4 separate regions of the Homo sapiens genome follow, and all the other regions are linked to region 3. Evidence: promoter capture Hi-C in 16 types of primary human blood cells and fetal thymus (Javierre and others, 2016). All regions are on one chromosome and are shown on one strand. The core of a region is centred on a gene start or on the middle of the fragment in contact, and the rest is flanking DNA. Distances in the headings are between cores, read along the strand shown.

Region 1 (4,372 bases), core at 729-3,228, 600 kb before region 3:
GAACAAAAATATATACATATATAAAAAGTGCCAAAAGAAAATTTGGGACAATGTTTAGCTAACAGGTTAGAAAGAAATTCACAGATCCTAGAAGTTCTAAAGGAAATAAATAATTTGATTAAAAATAAAGCCCAAAAACTTCTAGGCAATAAAATATACCATAATGAAGTTAGAAGAAAAGTCACAGATTAGCAGAAAGTATGACCAAATATTAAGATGAAACATGAATATTCCTAATATATAAAGGGCTTTATCAACTCAAACAATTGCATGTATAAGTAGGTAAAGGAAATTGAGAATTGAACAAAGAAGAAATACTAATGTCCAATTAATGATATAAAGATGTTCAGCTTTATTAAAAATTAAGCAAATGCAAATTAAAACAAGGAGATACTATGCATTCATCCATAAGAATAGATTTTTTTTAAAGACTACCACATCCAGGCAGGACACAGTGGCTCATGCCTGTAATCCCAGCATTTTGTGAGATCTAGGAGGGCCGATCACTTGAGGTCAGGGGCTTGAAACCAGTCTGGCCAACATGGCGAAACCCCATCTCTACTAAAAATACAACAATTAACTGGGCGTGGTGGCGTGCACCTCGGGAGGCTGTGGCAGAATTGCTTGAACCTGGGAGGCAGAGGTTGCAGTGAGCTAAAATCATGCCATTGCACTCAAGCCTGGGTGACATAATAAGACTCAAAAAAACAAACAAAAAAAAGACTACAACATCCAGTGTTTGTGAGGATATAGAAAAAAAGGATACTTTTGAAGAGGAAAGCATAACTAGAAAGTAGTTATCAATATTTTAAATGTAAATGTCTTTTACATAATCATGTCACATTTAAGTGTTTACAGAAATACTTGCAAATGTGTACAAAGATGTATTTCAAAAGAAGTTCATTACAGCACTATCTGTAATAGCCCAAAGCAGGAAATTGCCTAATTGTCCACCAGTAGAGAAAATGGCTTGCTAAATCATGATATATACAAATATGTAATTCAATGCAGTGATTGAAGAGATGTATATCTCTCTACTGACATGGAAGACCCCAAGATACATACATCGTTAAGCTGAAGAGCATGCTGCAGATAAAGAGAAAGATATTCCCAATTCATACGATCCCCAATTGGTATGGTCCCAATTTTAACCTAATTTAAAGCCCCCTAAATTCCCTAGCTATGTAGCACTTGCCAAGTTGTAAAACCATGCTAAGGCGCAGTCTCCTTATTTACAAAATGGTTTTTATAATAATGCCTATCCCCATAAGAGTATTAGGAAAATAAAATGAAATAGTCCATGTAATTATGCTTGGTTCAATGAGGGGAGAGGAAAAGCTTTCTCAGGGTAATATGAGGGATAATATTTCCCCTGATACCTACTACCCATATCATACTCTCTTTTTTTAAATTAAATTTAAAAACATTTTTAATAGAGATTGGGGTCTCACCATATTGCACAGGCTGGTCTTGATCTCTTGGCCTCAAACGATCCTTCCACCTTGGTCTCCCAAAGTACTGGGATTATAGGCATGAGCCCAGCCTCATACTCTCTTTCATAAACATGTTTTGAATATATCACCCACTAGGATGTTTAATGCCCTTTAAGCAAAAATCTGCATAACTGACTTAGTATTAGAACATAGATTAGGCTGCCAAAATCCCCACCTATGTCTAGAGCAATGCACTGTCATTACACAATGGCTCATGGCCTGCCAGGCTTTCTGTGTTTTCTCTGACCAGGAAGCCCTTTCATCTACATGATCTTGATTCTTTCCATTTTCTTACAATAGTTCTATTATTTTTATTAACCTTAATTGCTCTACAAAAAAATGGATAATTAATCAGATAATAATCAGAGCATGACTCCTCCTGGTATTCCAGCAACACAAAAAACTCTAAAGGCCAACAGCATTCTGAGTCCTAATGTTCAACACCAACAAGATATATGTATTTTTGTAGTTCAAGCTACCTTCACATTGTTCCTGTTTTATTTCACTGAGAAAAGTAAACAAAAGATGTTTAAATTTAAGACTTCTTGTTTCAGAGCCAATAAGTGATATTCTGGTTTCTCGATCAAAGGAAACAAAACAAGACCTCATCCACTGCTTCACAGCAGAGACAGGCTTTCAGGGGTAACAAGTTTACAAACACGGTTAGCAAGGACATTTCTGAACGAACAACCCAAGGCTATGAAAAGCAAATAAAGTAAAAATTAGCTTATTTTAAGATTTCAACTAGAATCATTATCTTATATACATTTTCAGTAGTTTGAACCACAACACTTTTTCAAAACAGCAGCAATACATTTTCAACAATAAGAAAAAAACTTATTTCCTTCACTTCTTTATGACACATTTTCTTTAATCAATGCAGGTCTAAATAAATTCAGCATATTCTATAAATACTGACTGGAAGGAATCTCCCACAATGCTTCCACACGGTCTCAGTTCAGGCTATGGTCCAGGTTCTGTAAAATCTTCCTGACACATCAAAGATGAAAAATGTTCCAGGTCCTAGCATGCTGAGTTTCAGATGATGGCTAGCAAAGTGTGCTCCTGGAGATAAGCCAAACATTCACATGCTTCCACAAACAGGTTACACTCATCACAAGCTTCCTTGGCAGAACCCTGACTCACCTTCACATGATTTCAGTGGCTCTGCAAAATAAGCTCTAAATTGAAACTAACAATAAGCCTGGAGAAGATAGCCACATATTAACATTCCAAAAACCAACCTGGCAAGCCTCACAAAGGAGGATTCTAATAGCTTTAGAGCAATGTATAATCTCAACTTTCCTTTTCTTCCCCCAAATTAAGGTTAGTTCACTGATCGACAATAGGTAGAATTATCTAGTGTATTGATTGTCCAGTGTGTGCCCGGGAGTATGTTAGGTGCTTGCTGCAAAATGAAGTAAGCCAAACTGGAGTTTATAATCATCAGACAATTTAGGGTAAACACTGGTAGTCTCCAAAGATGTAAACAGCTGAGGGCTTTAGTCTACTCCTCTGCAAGCTTTTAACATAAGGAGTATGTTACAATGAAAAGAAATTTCAAACTAAATTCTGCTCATGTAAAAACATTGCTTAACTGGAAGGTGCAAAAAACAGACTCATAGGCCTATCTCATAAAACTCTAAAATCCCAGATTTCTGTCCTTAAAAGTCATTTTGAAAAGTAGCCTGTGTGAAAGGTTTACTTAAAGCAGTTGCAACTACATTCTACAGTAGGATACATTTAACCTTCTAAGTGGATCACTCACCAGAATCCTACATACCACAAAACAGGATCAAATGGAGTACTAGTTAGGTTATTACTCCAAAAGCTGTTAATCTGCAAGCCTCGCCTGACCCAAAGTCTAGTTACATAAAATATTTCTAAGGCTAACCCCTGTATCTTCAACATCATTCATTTCACCAATTATTTGTAGCATACTTAACGTTAATACATTGTCTTGTGTAGATTTAAAGTACCAATATCTGGGTGCAGGCTTCTAATCAGTGTCTTTCAAATAATAACTTACTAATCCTAGTGTGTGGATTCATGATTGAAATACCTAGAAAATTAACTAAAGGGTCCTAAAACAAAGTTACTCCCATAAATATTATGTTATATATGCCAAAGTACTTTAAATTATAGACAATATAGCACTTTACACAAATTATCTCTTTACCAACCAATCTAGGGAGTAAGGCAGAAAAGGGTAAAGAGAGTTCCCACGGTTTTTCATATTTTTACACGAGAAGTTCAGAGGACAATACACATGCTATATATAAGACAAAGTCTATTAGGACAAAAAGTACATTTCACTAATTGTAAGCCTAGTGTTTTAATGGATTACTAAAGAACAAGAAGTTGGGCTGGGCGTGGGGGCTCACGCCTGTAATCCCAGCACTTTGGGAGGCCGAGGCAGGCGGATCACCAGGTCAGGAGATCTAGACCAACCTGGCTAACACGGTGAAACCCCGTCTCTACTAAAAATACAAAAAAATTAGCTGGGCGTGATGGCAGGTGCCTGTAGTCCCAGCTACTCAGGAGGCTGAGGCGGGAGAATGGCATGAACCCAGGAGGCGGAGCTTGCAGTGAGCCAAGATCGCACCACTGCACTCCAGACTCCAGCCTGGGCAACAGAGCGAGACTGTCTCAAAAAAAAAAAAAAAAAAGAAGTGAAAAAAAACCAAACATACTCTATATAATGGGAGGTAGAGAGCATGCTAGTTCAAACGGCAACACAAGGAAGCCTACGTTTGTCAAGGTTTTCCAGAAAAATAGAATTAATATCTTTATATGTGTTTTTTTTATACATACTATATATATTTATATTAAAATTGATTTTAAGGAATTGTCTCATATGACAGTAGGGACTAGCAAAT
Region 2 (4,630 bases), core at 1,717-4,216, 970 kb before region 3:
AGGTGTGCTCCTGTGGACCAACAAGTAAGAAAAGTCTCCTCCACTTCCAGGTTGGTCCTGGGAAGGTGTTATGGCCCTGGAAAGCACTGCAAATTCAAATAAATGGTCAGAGAAGTATTCACTTGCCTTGAACAAAAACTTGAATTGCGGGAATAAGCTATGCTGATATTTAGGGAAAGAGATTTCTAGGCCATGGGAGCAGCAGATTCTAAGACCCTGAGACAAGAAACAGGAAGGGACACCAGGAAGCCATCCTATTCAGATGCCTGCACCTCTTTTCAGATATTTTTGAAGCTCAATGAAGCTTAGGAGTATAACTGATGAATATGCATTTATTTCCTTTCTTCTACTTCTTGAACCCAAGTCCAATTCTCTCAAAGCTAAACCCACAACAGCATCCTCATATCTGCTGTGTTCTAGGCCTGATACATAGTAGGTTCTCCAAAATGGCTTATAATTGATGATAGTTTTGTTTCTTCTGTAGACAAGCAATAAAGTGCATATTTTATCAGTGGATATTCAATATTTAACACAAAAAAGTGGGGCAAACACACAAAAAATTTTCAAACCACATTAGGATTTCAATGATCTATTCCCAGAGGCCATCTTGATTTGGGGGCATGGCCACAATATTATAATAAAGAGCCAGCAAGCTAGTACAATTAAAACTATACTTTTATAACAATACAGATCAATTCTGTGGACTAAGCATACTATTTCATAAGAATAATTACCAGGGTTGTAAAAATCACATGAAACAACGTATATAAACGTACTTTGCATATTGTGAAGCATTATAGGAGAGTTACATATTATTACTGTTGTTCATATCAGTGGACTAATAGAACATCACAATTTTTCCTGAGAAATACTAAGTGGTGTTATGGTGAAAGACCGTCAGACTGAGACACCTGGATCGTATTCCCAGCTCTGGTGGTCATAAGCTGTGTGTTTCAAATAATTCAAAATACCTCTCAGTGACTTCTTTTCCTGTAAGTAAAATGAGACCTACTAGACACACTCCTCAGCCTTTAGGGCTTTTTTCTCCCTTATGGAACACAGTGTCCTGGACATTGGCAAAGATTAATACCATTTTGCAAGGGCAGAAGACCTTGCTGAGATTTTTTGAAAGTCTTCCCTGTGGCAGCCATGTTATGGGCTGCCCTTGTCCACAGACTGATTCAGGTTCTGTCTTCAAGCAGTTGGGGGCGCTGGAAGAACTGCTAAGATGCTTCAGCGCTAAAGTTCGGCGTATTCATTCTCAATTGTAATTACATACTGGGAGCATGTGTGTTTAACATAAAATCTGTTCAACAATCCTCACAAATGGCAGAAATGATTGCTTTGTAAACGGGAGGGTCCAAAGTCCTACGCAAGCACATCTTCGCTTGGAACTCTATTTGTGGCCTGGCATCCCTCTCTTTGGAATGCTGAAGTAATTATTTAGCCGCTACTGCCCACTTCTTGGATCCCATATCAGCGAACAAACCAGCTGCCTTTCATGTAAGAGTATTTAAAGAATTCGTAGCTAATTACCCTGAGTGTTTCCGGAGAATCTTGGTCGCTGGCACGATGCTAGATTGTTCCGTTTCAGCGACTCTCTTTACAGGTGGTGGATGTCAGAATGGCTGGATTGACATAAGCAGTAACCAAGCACTGGCCCACCTGAATTTTGACAGACTATTCATTTCACGTCATCTTTGACTGTGAAAGACAAGGTTTTTTCAGATCAAACATCCCTGCCCCACAGAGGGGGCATTAGCTCTGTGTTCCAGGTCTCCTAGCAACTGACCTGCATTTACACGCCGTCCAGCACAGTTTAAACATCAACACCAGCTTGTATTTCCATCCCTCACCCAGTTACACACTTCACAACATCAACTCGAGGGAATAATTTACCATAATTTTGTCTCTTCAGAACATTTACCTCACAATTGTACTCCAGGCAGCATTTGCATCCTCTTTTTACTTTTGACAAATTTATGATGCAGAGGTGCAGTAAGAAAAAAAAATTATCCTTCCCTTTTAAGGGGTAAAGAAATTGGACTGTCCTCTGTAACGTTCTTTTTACACCCACAGTTGTCAGAAGCCAATAAGTTGTTTACCAATTGCAAAGATTCATCAGTTTTATTTTATACTATGGAAGTATCTAATTCATGAAGGAGCAATCCTCAACACAACACCAAAACTATGGGATATTGCAGGAAAAAAAAAATTGCACAACAAATTTGCAGACAAAGCTGCAGTTAGGAATGGGAAAGAGGAGTGGAGAGAAAGGGGGCACATATTTTCAGAAAACCATAGAAAAATAGTATACCTAAAGAGAAACAACACTCTTGCTTTTTAAAAGAACTTAATTTTGCTTGTAGAATCACAGAATTATAGCAAAAAAAAAAAAAAAGGTTCTTGTTAAGGGTATCAAATCTTCTCATTTAAGAAAAAAAGTACTGAGGCCATCTCACTTACATGTTTGCACAAAATTGCATAATTAATTAGTCGCAAAGCGAAGTCTCCAACCTAATGTCAAGCTTCATACTTTAGTTTTTGAACTACACAACGCTGCCTTTCTGTAGTTTTCTATAGTTTTGCATCTCCTCTCCCTAAACTGATAGTGTAAAGAAAAAATAAGCAGCCACACTAGTGTATATAAGCAAAGCATTCCACTCTTTTTACAGTAGATAAATTTGTGAAAACTTGACAAATTTATAAAATGAGCAATGTTCAATTATTATTTTATATATTTTTTGATGTGATAACTATATACTTGAGAAATTCAAAAGGTGACGTAGAGTTGACCCTTTGGCAAATATTTTAAGGATGCCATTTCAGAAAGGTATTAACAAACACAGCTTCAAATAACGAAGCACATTTTAAAGCCACAAACGTTTTTCTAGAGAGAGAATCAAAATTAAAACCGTGCTGCTAGTTGTCTTTTAGGGACTGTGTTAACACGTCAGGCCACATGATGGCAGTGTTCCTCGATAAATGAACCCGGAAGAACAGCTGCAGTATCCTGGGGAAAAAAAAAAAATCCAAGCCAATGCGGATAAAACGTGATCCAGGTTAAACCACAAATATGGATTTTAAAAATTTTGTTTTAATCCACGTAAACCATATCTTTCCTGATCATATTTTCCTACAATGAATTTCTCTACTGAGAATTTGCTATTGGTTTATGATTTCATAAAATAAATTTCAATATGTATCTAACAAATACATAAATTAAACATTGTTTGGAGGAGGAGTGGGTTGTCCCTTTATTGTTTGTTTTTGCTACAATGGTATTAAGAAGAACATTCAAAATAATAAGCTAAAAATGTTTCATACCATGTGTCTCCAGATTCTTTACAGACCGTTGTCTTATGAGTCTCTGTCTTTGGGTGTGGGAAAGCAAGACAAGCTTGCTTCTCATGCTCACAATTTTTCTCCTAGGCTGAAAATATTCCCTATAAGACCAGAGTGTGATTTCCTGAGTCCTTTCTAAAAAGGCGTGAAGCCACAGATGGAGGTTAAAGCAGCAGCTACTGTCAGTCAAGGCCCCAGGCAAGACTGTGAAATCAAAGATATTGTTCCCGTTTCCCAGCCCTGGTCTTTTCTAGTGTCTGTAGCTGCCCCTTGATTGCTCCAGGGGGTAAAAGAGCTAGGCTTGTCCTCTAGATCTTCCTTCCATTTCTTGATTTCTCATAGGTGAATTTTGTATTTTAAACATGGGCTGTGAGCTTTCTATAAATTTTTTTTTAAATATAAAAAAGAATGTCAGTCACCTGCAAGAGAATATTTTGGGACAAGCATGCAATACGCACCTACCTCACACAGCTAACAGCCTTGGCTGAAAGCTATCCGATGACTCTGGGCTGGGCTGGAAGCCTTGCCGCTGCATACCACAATTTGAACACTATTGACTGAGTTATTATTAGGTGTCTGACACTGTGATAGGTGTAGTAGGGACCGACAGATGTGTAGGATTCAGCCCCAATCTCAAGAACTTATAGACGAATGAAATTAGACCATACTGGTTATACAATAAGGCAGACCAGAATCTACTGTGCCAGAAATACGAAACACAGGGAGCTGGCATTATAAAAAGGAAAGATCACACCATTCGGTTTGAGGAATCAAGAAAGATTTCACAGAGGAAATGGTATTTGAAATAGGATCTTGGGATCTTGATATATAGAGACCGAAAAGTTCAGGTGATTTGATTTCTTTGTTTACACTGTGATGCCATTTAGGAAGGCACCCCATAAATCTTAACTAAGTAAAGATTCTTCACAACCTTGCCAGCTCATGGCAAGGATTAGAGATGGGGGAGAGAATGGCCATCTAATTTTACTAAAAGATAAAGAATATGAGCAGGAAAAATAGAAGATGACACTGGAATACATGATTTGGTTTTATAAAGACAGAAGACCTTGAATGCAAGTAGAGCAATTTAGCTATTAAATAAATTCAAGGCCGGGCACGGTGGCTCATGCCTGTAATCTCAGCACTTTGGGAAGCTGAGGTGGGTGGATCACCTGAGGTCAGGAGTTTGAGACCAGCCTGGCCAACATGGTGAAACCCCATCTCTACTAAAAATACAAAACTTAGCCAGGTGTGGTGGCACGCACCTGTAGTCCCAGCTACTCGG
Region 3 (4,823 bases), core at 451-2,950:
AGAGAGGCCAAAAGGTTATAAAGAATCTAATTTTTAAAATCAATTTAGTATACTAAAAGCTGTTCACCCAGTATGGCTCTAGAGTACAATATTTTTAATTCTCAAGAGTTGGAAGAAATAAAGCAGCAAAACTGACCAAAATTGAAAGATCTCCTGGGATGAGAATACAGCGCAGACTCCAACAACCCGTTTATGGATATTTTGCCAAAGTAGGTGTAAATTTAAACGGGCACAGCGCTAATTTGCACCTGTCCATTACACATTACATCTTGACTGATTAATCTCACAGTCACCAAGAGCTGGCCAGATAATGGCTTTGATAGTATTAAGAGCCAAAAATAAAAGATCCTATCATTATTAATTTCCCTCTGCCTGTCAGCCTCTCTCCCAGTGACATTTTTACAAAGGAAAAAAAACAATCAATCAGCAAGGAGAAGTAAATATCCCTTGATTACTGAAAGATAATTCATTCTCAAATCAGGTCATATTTCCTTTTCCCCTTTACACCAATTTCAAAACCCATGGCCAAGGCCTGCTTTCAAAGTGCTTACAACTTGCTTTCAACTGCCCACCTTTACGCCTGTCAACCCACAACTTCCTTCCAAAAATCTGCTCTGGTGCCTTAACTTTGTAAAAAGTGTGCACTCCGAAGCCTTTAAACGTTTCTGCATCACAAAAGCTGGGTGGCACCTCTTCCATTTGGCCACAGGCATCTTTTGCCAGCTGTCGCCCTTTTGGCAAAGGAAAATGGGGGCGGCCCTTGCCGCTGTCCAACAGCCCAGACTGGGTGTTACAGGGCAGAGGCAAAATTAAACAAAGGCTAAGGAGCCGGACCCTTAAGAGGCAGGACCTGCGACCCCACTGCTGGCAGCGGTGCCCCTTGCAGGGCGGCCTTGGGCTTCATGCGCCCCGGGCTGCCCCCAAGGACCGCCTGTCCGACTTCCTGCACGCGAGCCCCTGATCTGGAGCGTCTCCCCGAACCCAGACCGCTCAGGAGCCGGACCTCAGCAGCACTTTTGGCCAGGTCCAGGGTTGGCGCCCCCGACCCCAGCGCGGGCGGCTCGGGGCGCCCAGAACCACCAGCCATTGTCCTTTGGTGGCCCCCACTGGGGTCCACTCAGTTGGCCTCGGGCGCCGGCCGCTGCTGGGGACACCTGGGGGAACCGCCTCCCCCGCGGGCCGGGCCGGCGGAAGGCCGCGTGGGCGTGTGTTGGGCGATGGGGGCGGCCTCCAGCCGCCGCGTCGCCGCCTCCCCCACGGCCTGCCCGGGCAGAGGGGAGGGCCCGCTCACCTCGGTAGCGGCGGGAGGCGAGGTGGCACGCTGCGAGCAGCAGCACGGCCACCAGCGCCAGCACCTTGGCGCTCCTCACGCTGAAGTAGTGGTTGATCTCCCGCTTGCCCAGGTTGTAGGCCAGAGCCGCCATCTTGGTTCCTCCATGACAACAGTGCGCGGCGGAGCGGGAAAGGGGCGCCGCACAGGGGCAGCACTGGGGCTGCCGCCGCTGCAGCCAGGCGAGGAGCGGCCGCCAGCTCCCCAGGCCGCCACCTGCGCCTCCCGCCGGGGAACCTGACCCCGCGGCCGCGGCGCCCCCGACCTCCGCCTGCCCCTCCTCGGCCGCGGCCGACTCGGCGGCCTCCCCCCAGCCCCGCCGCCGCTGCTCCGCCGTGCCGGTTCCCCAGGCGCCCTGGACGCCTGTCTCCTCCCCTTCCTCCTCCTCTTTAGCCTCCTGCCTTAATAGCGGCTGCGCCTGCGAGGGGGGTCCGGATGCCCAGTGCTCCGGGGTCACCGGGTCACGCGCCCCGGCGGGCGGCGGCGGCTGCGGCAGAGCCATGGGGGTGTGGGGAGAGAGTACTAGGGGTACCCGCCTGGCCCGGACGCGAGCCTTAGGGCTGTCTCCTAGTTTACTGGCCGCTACCTGAGCCCAGGTTGGGGCAATAGAACTACAGTTCCGGGAGAAAAGTACACATCGTCCCATTCCTTCCTTCCCCAACACTCCCCTTTCTCAGCCTTCTACTGCCAGAACCCGCCCAGCGGGATGCGAAGGACACCCTAAGGTCGTTTATTGTCTGGCTATCCGTGGCCTGGCTGGTCAGTCTGGCTGCCCCTGGGTGCTGGCCAGATTGGATTGATGGATCCAGTTGATGGTGCTGGCCGATGGATTGCTGGCATCCAACCCAGGAGTGAAACCAGTCTTAACACTTAACTCACCGCTCTGGCCAGTTTCTCTTAAACCGTTTTTTTAATGTCCTCAGTTTGCCCAGTTCTGGTGGGCGAAAGTACACCAAAGTTCCGAATGGAAGGTACAGAAGGAGCCTAACTTAGTGTAGGTGTTGATGAGAAAAGAGTCTGACTCTCACTTGTATTTACGCAAGTTTGGCTAGGTCGATGTGCCAAAAAAATTCGTTTTTTTTGAGAGGGAGTCTCACCCTGTCGCCCAAGCTCTAGTGCAGTGGCGTGATCTTCGCTCACTGCAGCCTCCCCCTCCTGGGTTCAAATGGTTGTCCTGCCTGAGCCTGCCGAGTAGCAGAGATTGCAGGCGCCCGCCACCACACCCGTTTAATTTTTGTATTTTAATAGAGACGGGGGTTTCACCATTTTGGTCAGGCTGGTCTCGAACTCCTGACCTCAAATGATCTGCCCATCTCGGCCTCCCAAAGTGCTGGGATTACAGGCATGAGCCACCAAGCCTAGCCAAAAAAAATTTTTCTTAATGTGCTTATGACAATCATCCCCGCTACTAACGTTGGTTAATGTTTTGTGATTCTCAATAAAGCCAGCACTCCATTTCCTTAATAAAGCATTGTTATCCCTACTCTCCTCTCGCTCCCACCCCACCTTTTTTAAATGGTTTTTCTTGTTGCCTTCCAGATGGGAATGGTTATTTACATTGCTTGCCATTCTACTTGCCTTGCCTTGTTTAGAGTGAGTCATTGTTTAGTTGGGGTGTTGTCAAGTATTCTTTACAACTTTCCCATTTAGCCATTCCTGAACTTGTGCTTATAGGCCCCTCTTAAAATTATAGAATATTAGATATGAAGGGACTGTAGAGATCTTGTCTACTCATTCCCATTCTCTTCATCCAAGGACTCTTTATTATGTTTTCATCCATGGACTTTATATCTTGAAAGATTTTGTCACTTAAATGAAATCACATACATCACTGTCATGGATGTAATGCTAATAAGCAATAAAGTTAAATAAGTGTACAAACACTTAGGCACTGTTCCCTGCAAATAGTCTTTTAATTTTGGCTGTCATTCTGATCAGAGGTTGATCACATGTTGTAAGAATTGGGTATTGTAAAAACCAGATAACTCTGCCAACAATATATGGTCTGCCAATCACATCCTAGACATTTCTATGATGTCATTACCAGCAAATTAGAATTTCTGATCAGCATGCAATAACCAGTGTTAACCCAAAGGGTTGAGTTAATGCCTGCAAAAAGTAAAGAAACTTGACATTCTATTAATTGCAATTTCCAGAAGGCTTTCTTAAATACTGTAAATAGCTTGTGAACCTCCTTTTTCTTCTCTCAAGTTTAAGGCCAATCTCTCTACCTCTGCTCTGAATCTTTTCTTATCCTCCTTTCTTGAGGGTGTTGATTCCTCCATCAGTTATCCCCATGCAAATCATTCTTTTTCTGTGTCTTCCAATTCTCCCTATCACCTTGCTGTTTGCCTTCCTCCAAAAAAAATTTTTTTTTAATGAAAAACACCCATGGACTCTGTTCCTGCATGTTTACCTCATCAACTCTTTCCTCCTCTGGCAAACATCTAGAAAGAGCAGTGTTGACTCTCTGCCTTCACTGGCTCAATTAGCATTCTCTCTTCAGCCATTTCATTGTTCTTCACCAAGGCTGTGTGGTATGACTACTTGTTAAATCCAAGGGACACTTTATATTCCTTATCTTCCTGGACCATTTTGTGGCACCTGACATTGTTGACCATTCTTCCTTATTTGGTATCCATCTAAAACAGAGCGGAGACTTTGTTTTCAGCCACTTCTTGCTGTTTTTAAGTGACCTTAGGATCACTTAGTCATTATTTAGTGGTCCCACCACTGCCATGGGATCACCTTCCTTATACACACGCGCGCGCACACACACACACACACACCTGATATGTCAGTCCATATTTATCTATCCTCATGCTGTAAGAACCATCTGCCTACTAGGATATCCTTCAGGTACCTAATATATATCATTTCCTAAACAAACTCATCACCTTCCTTCTCCTTTATCTACTTTCAACCTTTATGCCTAAGTTTTCATCATTAACCCAGCCGTCCAAGCAAGTGTTTGAGTCATCCTTGCTTTCTTCTAAATAACTCTCAACTGTGTTGCCCCCTCTCTATCCACTTGCTGTTACCTTGGTTAAGGGATGATTTCTTGCCTGCATTTCTTATCCTTTTACTCGTCTTTCTCAGGTCACTCGAAAATCCAACCCTACTGCCATTCTGCCATACCTCTTACCAGACAGAACTTTCTTAAATTAAAATCTCGTAATGTCATTTCCTGCTAAAAACTAGTTAGTGGCTCCACGTTTATTTCCTGACCCCTGAGCTATCCAGAATGTTTACTAATGCTCAGCATGTTACCTCACACCTTAATAATATTTTAAAAAGAGAGAGACAGAAACCATCTGACAGAAACTCTCTCAACCTATGCATTATTTTTATTTTTATTTTTATTTTTTGAGATGGAGTCTCACTCTGTCGCCCAAGCTAGAGTGCAGTGGTGTGATCTTGGCTCACTGCAACCTCTGCCTCCCAGGTTCAAATGATTCTCCTGCCTGTCTCCCGAGTAGCTGGGACTACAGGT
Region 4 (4,732 bases), core at 266-2,765, 690 kb before region 3:
ATTATATTTTAGGGGCTTCAGTATAGAAGGGGCTTCAGTTTCTGGAGTGATGATTAACCTTCTTATGAACTACTGCCTAAGGAGACTTTGAAATGCTATCTATAGCTAAGACTTTACAATGTAACAAATACTATATCTTAAAAGAATATTTAAGGAAGCCAAATAATCATAATTTTTAAAGTGTAATACTTTATTTTAATTTCAATGACCATACCTATTTTCTAACTCAAAAATGGAATATAGCACTAGTTCATACTGTATTTCCAGTCTAAGCCTGCAGCATTTCAAACGGCATAATGCTCTTAAATAAAAAATACTCATAATATATACACACTACACAAAATATATACCATAATTACATCATCTCACTACTAAAAGGCTACAAACTGATAGTGGTGGAGTATGACAAGAGATTAAATGTTACTAAAAAGTTAAATTCTAGTTGAAAAATTTATCATACCCCCCGAGTGTCATGAAATAGTGCTGATTGTCTGAGAGATTTATTGAAATCCTCCATGGCAACCTTTCAGATTATTAAAAAAAAGAAAAGAGAAAGAAAGAAAAAAAAAACAAGTGATCAATACTTCGATTAAACAGAAATTAAATCATGAATCACAGATATATTCAGATATACATTTAAAATTTTTCAATTGTTCAAATATTCATCTCCCTCTTCTTAAATAGGATCCTCCTTTTTATTCTACAGCTTTTAGGCAGAGCCATTTTAACATTTTTTTTTAATCAGAATGTTTAACAGAGAGTAAACAAAAACAGGGATGCAAATTAAAATAAAATTGGCTGTTTGCTTATTTTAAACCCTTCTAAAGATGTAGAGGAAGAAAAAAACAGAAAAAGCAGAAATTTAAATAGTTTGAAAATTATCTACATAGCTTAAATTCTACTAGAGTATGACTTATAATTTCCTAAAGCATTGAAACAGATATGTCTAAGCATAAGCAATATATTGTAAGTTAATCTTTCTCAATATAGTTTTTAGAGCTCCACTGTAGGTTTATAATTTCAGGATCTATTTCTCCCATTGTGATGTTTTCCATGTAGTGAATGCAAGCAAGCAAATACCCTCTGTCAATGTGACAAGTTCCAAGTTACAATCAACTTTGGATGATTTGATCAAAAACAGAAGCTATCTATCCTTCAGCAGAAAATGCTGACTAAGAGCTGGCTCTGGAAATCAGTTGGATGAACTTGGTTGTTCTGTATCTAAATGGAGGTTTTCCTGGCTGGTGCAGGGAATGTCACAGGAGATACTGTCAAATAAAAATAACTCTAACTTTGAAATCACAAGATGATTCTATAAATCATAAAAGTAAAAAAACCAAGTGACTGATTAACAAAGATATACTAATCAATAAATTGTTCAATTATATATGAAATTAACTCAATTATTCAAGGAGCATTTATCCATTAGCTATCCAATATTTGTTCTTCTCATTTCCTTTATGCCTCTTGGACATTTTATTCTTCATTCACAAAGAAAGACAGAGAGTAAATAGAAAATAGGGAAAAAGCACTCAAATCAATCCATTTAATAATTTTTTCAGCATTAGAAAAAAGAATTTGAATCAAGTGACAATTTGAAGTTTTAACATTGGAGTGGATTTTCACTATTTGTACAGCTTTCATCTCTCCTATGCACTGAAAATTAACAGTTGGTTTTATCTGGGCATGTTTTGTTGAGGCAGTGTGTAACATACAAGAAAGGGAAAAAACCCAAGTCACAGAGGATGAGAGACAGATACAAAGGAGAAGTCTCCTTGACTTTTTTCCATAAAGTGAGTTACTTGGAGTAACATAGCAAGCACCTCGTTTTTACTTCTACAACTTGCAGAAAGAAAAACAGTTTAACTTAAAGCTAAACTAATTAAAAAAAATTTGAGTACTCAATTATTCTTCTCTTTAAACTCTATAAAGATGATTCTTATGGACTGTTGCATAGAGAAAATAATTATCCAAAGACTTGATTTCCCTATTATTAGAAATACAGAACAAAGAATCATAGAACCTAAACTCCATCACCGCAAACAGTAATTCTCTTAACATCTTTTGTTACCCAGTTATTCTGTGTCTGCAGGAGTGTTCTTACATGCTACTCAAAAACAGCACAGTGTGTTGCAAAGAGTCCAGGCTTTGGAGCCAGCAAGACTTTATTCCAATTTCAACTCTGCCAGCTACTGGATGTACCACTAGAAAAAAACCTCAGTTGCTGCATTTCTAGGGAAAAAAAGAAAATCTCTTCTGGCTGCATTAAAGATTAAATGAGATCATGTAAGAAAGACACCTTGCAAAGTGCTTGCCACTGAATATTTACTTAATTTCCTTGCCCCTGAAAATATCTGCTCAGGTGACAACTCTGATTACTTTACAAAAACAGGCAAACAAAAAAAATCTATAAACAATCTTCCATTTAAGATGTGATACATTCCTAAGTATAAATGTCAAGTAAAAACTATTCTTTTTCCATCTATTCCAATTATCAAGTTAAAGAAAAATCTGGGCCAGGTAGGGTGGCTCACACCTGTAATCCCAGCACTTTGGAAGGCTGAGGCAGGAGGACTGCTTGAGGCCAGGAGTTCAAGACAGGCCTGGACAACATAGTGAGACCTCATCTATAAAAAAAAAATTTTTTTTTTTTAATTAGCAGGATGTGGTTCTGTGTGCTTGTTGCCCCAGCTACTCAGGAGGCTGAGGCAAGGCAGGAGGTTGGCTTGAGCCCAGGAGCTCAAGGATATAGTGAGCTATGCTTGCACCACTGCACTCCAGCCTGGGTGGCAGAGCAAGACCCTGTGTCGTAAAAAAAAAAAAAGAGCAAAATTTTATATCAACTTTTGGGGATGAATGTGATCAGCGCCTCAAAATACCTGCAGAAAATGTGTGGTCTGTGATCTAAATGTTTTACTTGGAGTGCCTTAAAAATGTGACTATCTTCTTTCTTTGCCCCCTCTGCTTGTTAGACTTGATGTCTTATTTCATATTCATGGAACATTAGAAGCTGGAAGGAATTTTGTGATCTAGCCCAATCCCTGTGCTTTCATGCCAAAGACACCAAGGCACACAGACTAGAAAGCCTGGCCATGTCCCCTTCCACCACTTGATGTCACTGTACTCCCCTGAACCTAAGACCAAAAATCCTAGCACAGTGAGGACGCAAAAATCAAACCTGCAGAAAATGATTCTACAATCTCAGAATAAGCTTGCAGCAAAAGCAAATCAGTGTCTCTGATAAAATACAAAATACTAATGTAAAGAATTGAAAACCAGGTAAGATACAAGTTCAAAATATTTGAGGAAATCCCTTTTTTAGTTTGAAAATTCAAGAGAACATTTTTCATACAAAATATCTCAGTGTAATGAAAATATACTTGCCATTTCAAATGGACTCACCAAGTAAGAAAATAAATTAAATCAAGTTCTAAGAGTCTAATTCATTCATTTAAAGGATTTCTAATATATTATTCTTTGATCAAAAGTTAACGGATATACCACCTCTAATTTTCTGCTATAAGTGGAGAATATATCCTCATTATACCACATATTCATGAGATCTTAATATACATTGGGATTAAAACATCTCAGATTAAAAATATGTGAAAATATTTGAATGTCTGTTTATTAATATCTATATCCTGGCTAGAAAGCAAAATTCTGAAAAATTATATATTCAGATAAGAAGGGGTTGAATACATGAAGTTTCACTGTGGTTATATTAGCTGGAATGAAGAATATTTGTTTTACCTGAATATGTACTAGTTTATGGAGTATAAAATACTACAATTAAATTGTTGATGGATCTTTTGACACACCAATATGAAACACATGAATGTTTAAACGTGTTTATAATAAAGCATGTTGTCCCATTATATCAATGTACATTTCAAAGACATTAGAAATAGACCAGCATCTGTATTATATTACAGCACACAAGGGTTCTGGAGAGCTGTTTTCACTTGGGGGTTAGCTTCTATTCATTTACTTGATCTTTTACAGAAAGCAGGATGTAAAATTATTCCAATATGTATCTGCTCTATGGAACATGTGCTAGTGGAAAGCTTTGTTCTGCATTATGTTAGCACAAATCATAGTAAGCAGATCCAAAGAACTTTTTCTTCCTGGGGGAAAAAGACACTGGAAACACTCAGCAATCTTTAGTACTTTTCTATGTATATTTGTTTGTGTATGGGTGTGTTTACTGATTTTTTGGAAAAGCATTACATACTATTGTAGAACATTTGGAAAAGATTGAAAAAATATAAAGCAGAGAGAGAAAATCACCCAATTCCACCAATAAAGATGACATTATTCACATTTTTGTGTTTTTATCCTTTTCTGTTTCTATGACTTCCTTTATAATAGTGCAAAAGATAAGACTTATTTGTGTCCACAGTCTTCATACTGTAAACAGGATACCATGACTTGATTCTTAAGCGTATATCAGATGCGAGTAGTATTTCTTTTCTAAGGTAGAATTTTAGTTCAATGTGGACACACCTTCCTCAAGAAACTGCATAAAACCTGTCATACTGTTATACAGTAGAGAGAGTTTCATGAATTAGAAAATGTGGGAAAAAGAATCTTTGCAAGCACTACTGACCTCGTCATCGTCGGCATCATACTGGGCATAGTGCTGTTCCAGCAGCTCTCTCTGGCGCCTCTCCTGTTCCAGTGTCTGGCTTATCAACTGGGCAACCTCGCTCACTTGTCCTGGTTTTTCCCG

The links. The method cuts DNA at HindIII sites, captures the fragments that hold promoters and counts their contacts. A CHiCAGO score of 5 or more calls a contact.
Region 1: a contact is called between a fragment that was not itself captured here and the fragment with the promoter of CASD1 in region 3, in 2 of 17 cell types (M2 macrophages and M0 macrophages). The highest score is 5.9, in M2 macrophages.
Region 2: a fragment that was not itself captured here is called in contact with the fragment with the promoter of CASD1 in region 3 in 15 of 17 cell types (total CD8 T cells, naive CD8 T cells, fetal thymus and 12 more); the score reaches 16.8 in total CD8 T cells.
Region 4: a contact is called between a fragment that was not itself captured here and the fragment with the promoter of CASD1 in region 3, in 2 of 17 cell types (M2 macrophages and M0 macrophages). The highest score is 8.6, in M2 macrophages.

Annotation. Positions count from the first base shown.
Region 1 is chr7:95,103,153-95,107,524 of GRCh38, reverse strand. All of the region lies in intron 2 of PPP1R9A (protein phosphatase 1 regulatory subunit 9A), which reads right to left. All of the region lies in intron 3 of PPP1R9A-AS1 (PPP1R9A antisense RNA 1), which reads left to right. Among named protein-coding and RNA genes, the nearest start is that of PPP1R9A-AS1, 110 kb to the left of the region's middle. The HindIII fragment of the contact is 1,276 bases long and covers 1,341-2,616 here.
Region 2 is chr7:95,475,507-95,480,136 of GRCh38, reverse strand. It overlaps a transcript of ASB4 not described here. Among named protein-coding and RNA genes, the nearest start is that of ASB4, 8.1 kb to the left of the region's middle. The HindIII fragment of the contact is 872 bases long and covers 2,531-3,402 here.
Region 3 is chr7:94,506,686-94,511,508 of GRCh38, reverse strand. It overlaps CASD1 (CAS1 domain sialic acid O acetyltransferase 1), which reads right to left and starts at 1,700. Exons shown (of 18, transcript NM_022900.5): 1 at 1,292-1,700. The coding sequence starts at 1,424. RefSeq lists silencers at 1,037-1,396, 1,497-1,646, 1,687-1,906 and enhancers at 440-1,426, 1,427-2,415. The HindIII fragment of the contact is 8,005 bases long and covers 1-4,823 here.
Region 4 is chr7:95,198,362-95,203,093 of GRCh38, reverse strand. It overlaps PPP1R9A (protein phosphatase 1 regulatory subunit 9A), which reads right to left. Exons shown (of 20, transcript NM_001166160.2): 6 at 4,610-4,732. All of the region lies in intron 1 of PPP1R9A-AS1 (PPP1R9A antisense RNA 1), which reads left to right. Among named protein-coding and RNA genes, the nearest start is that of PPP1R9A-AS1, 14 kb to the left of the region's middle. The HindIII fragment of the contact is 3,396 bases long and covers 1-3,213 here.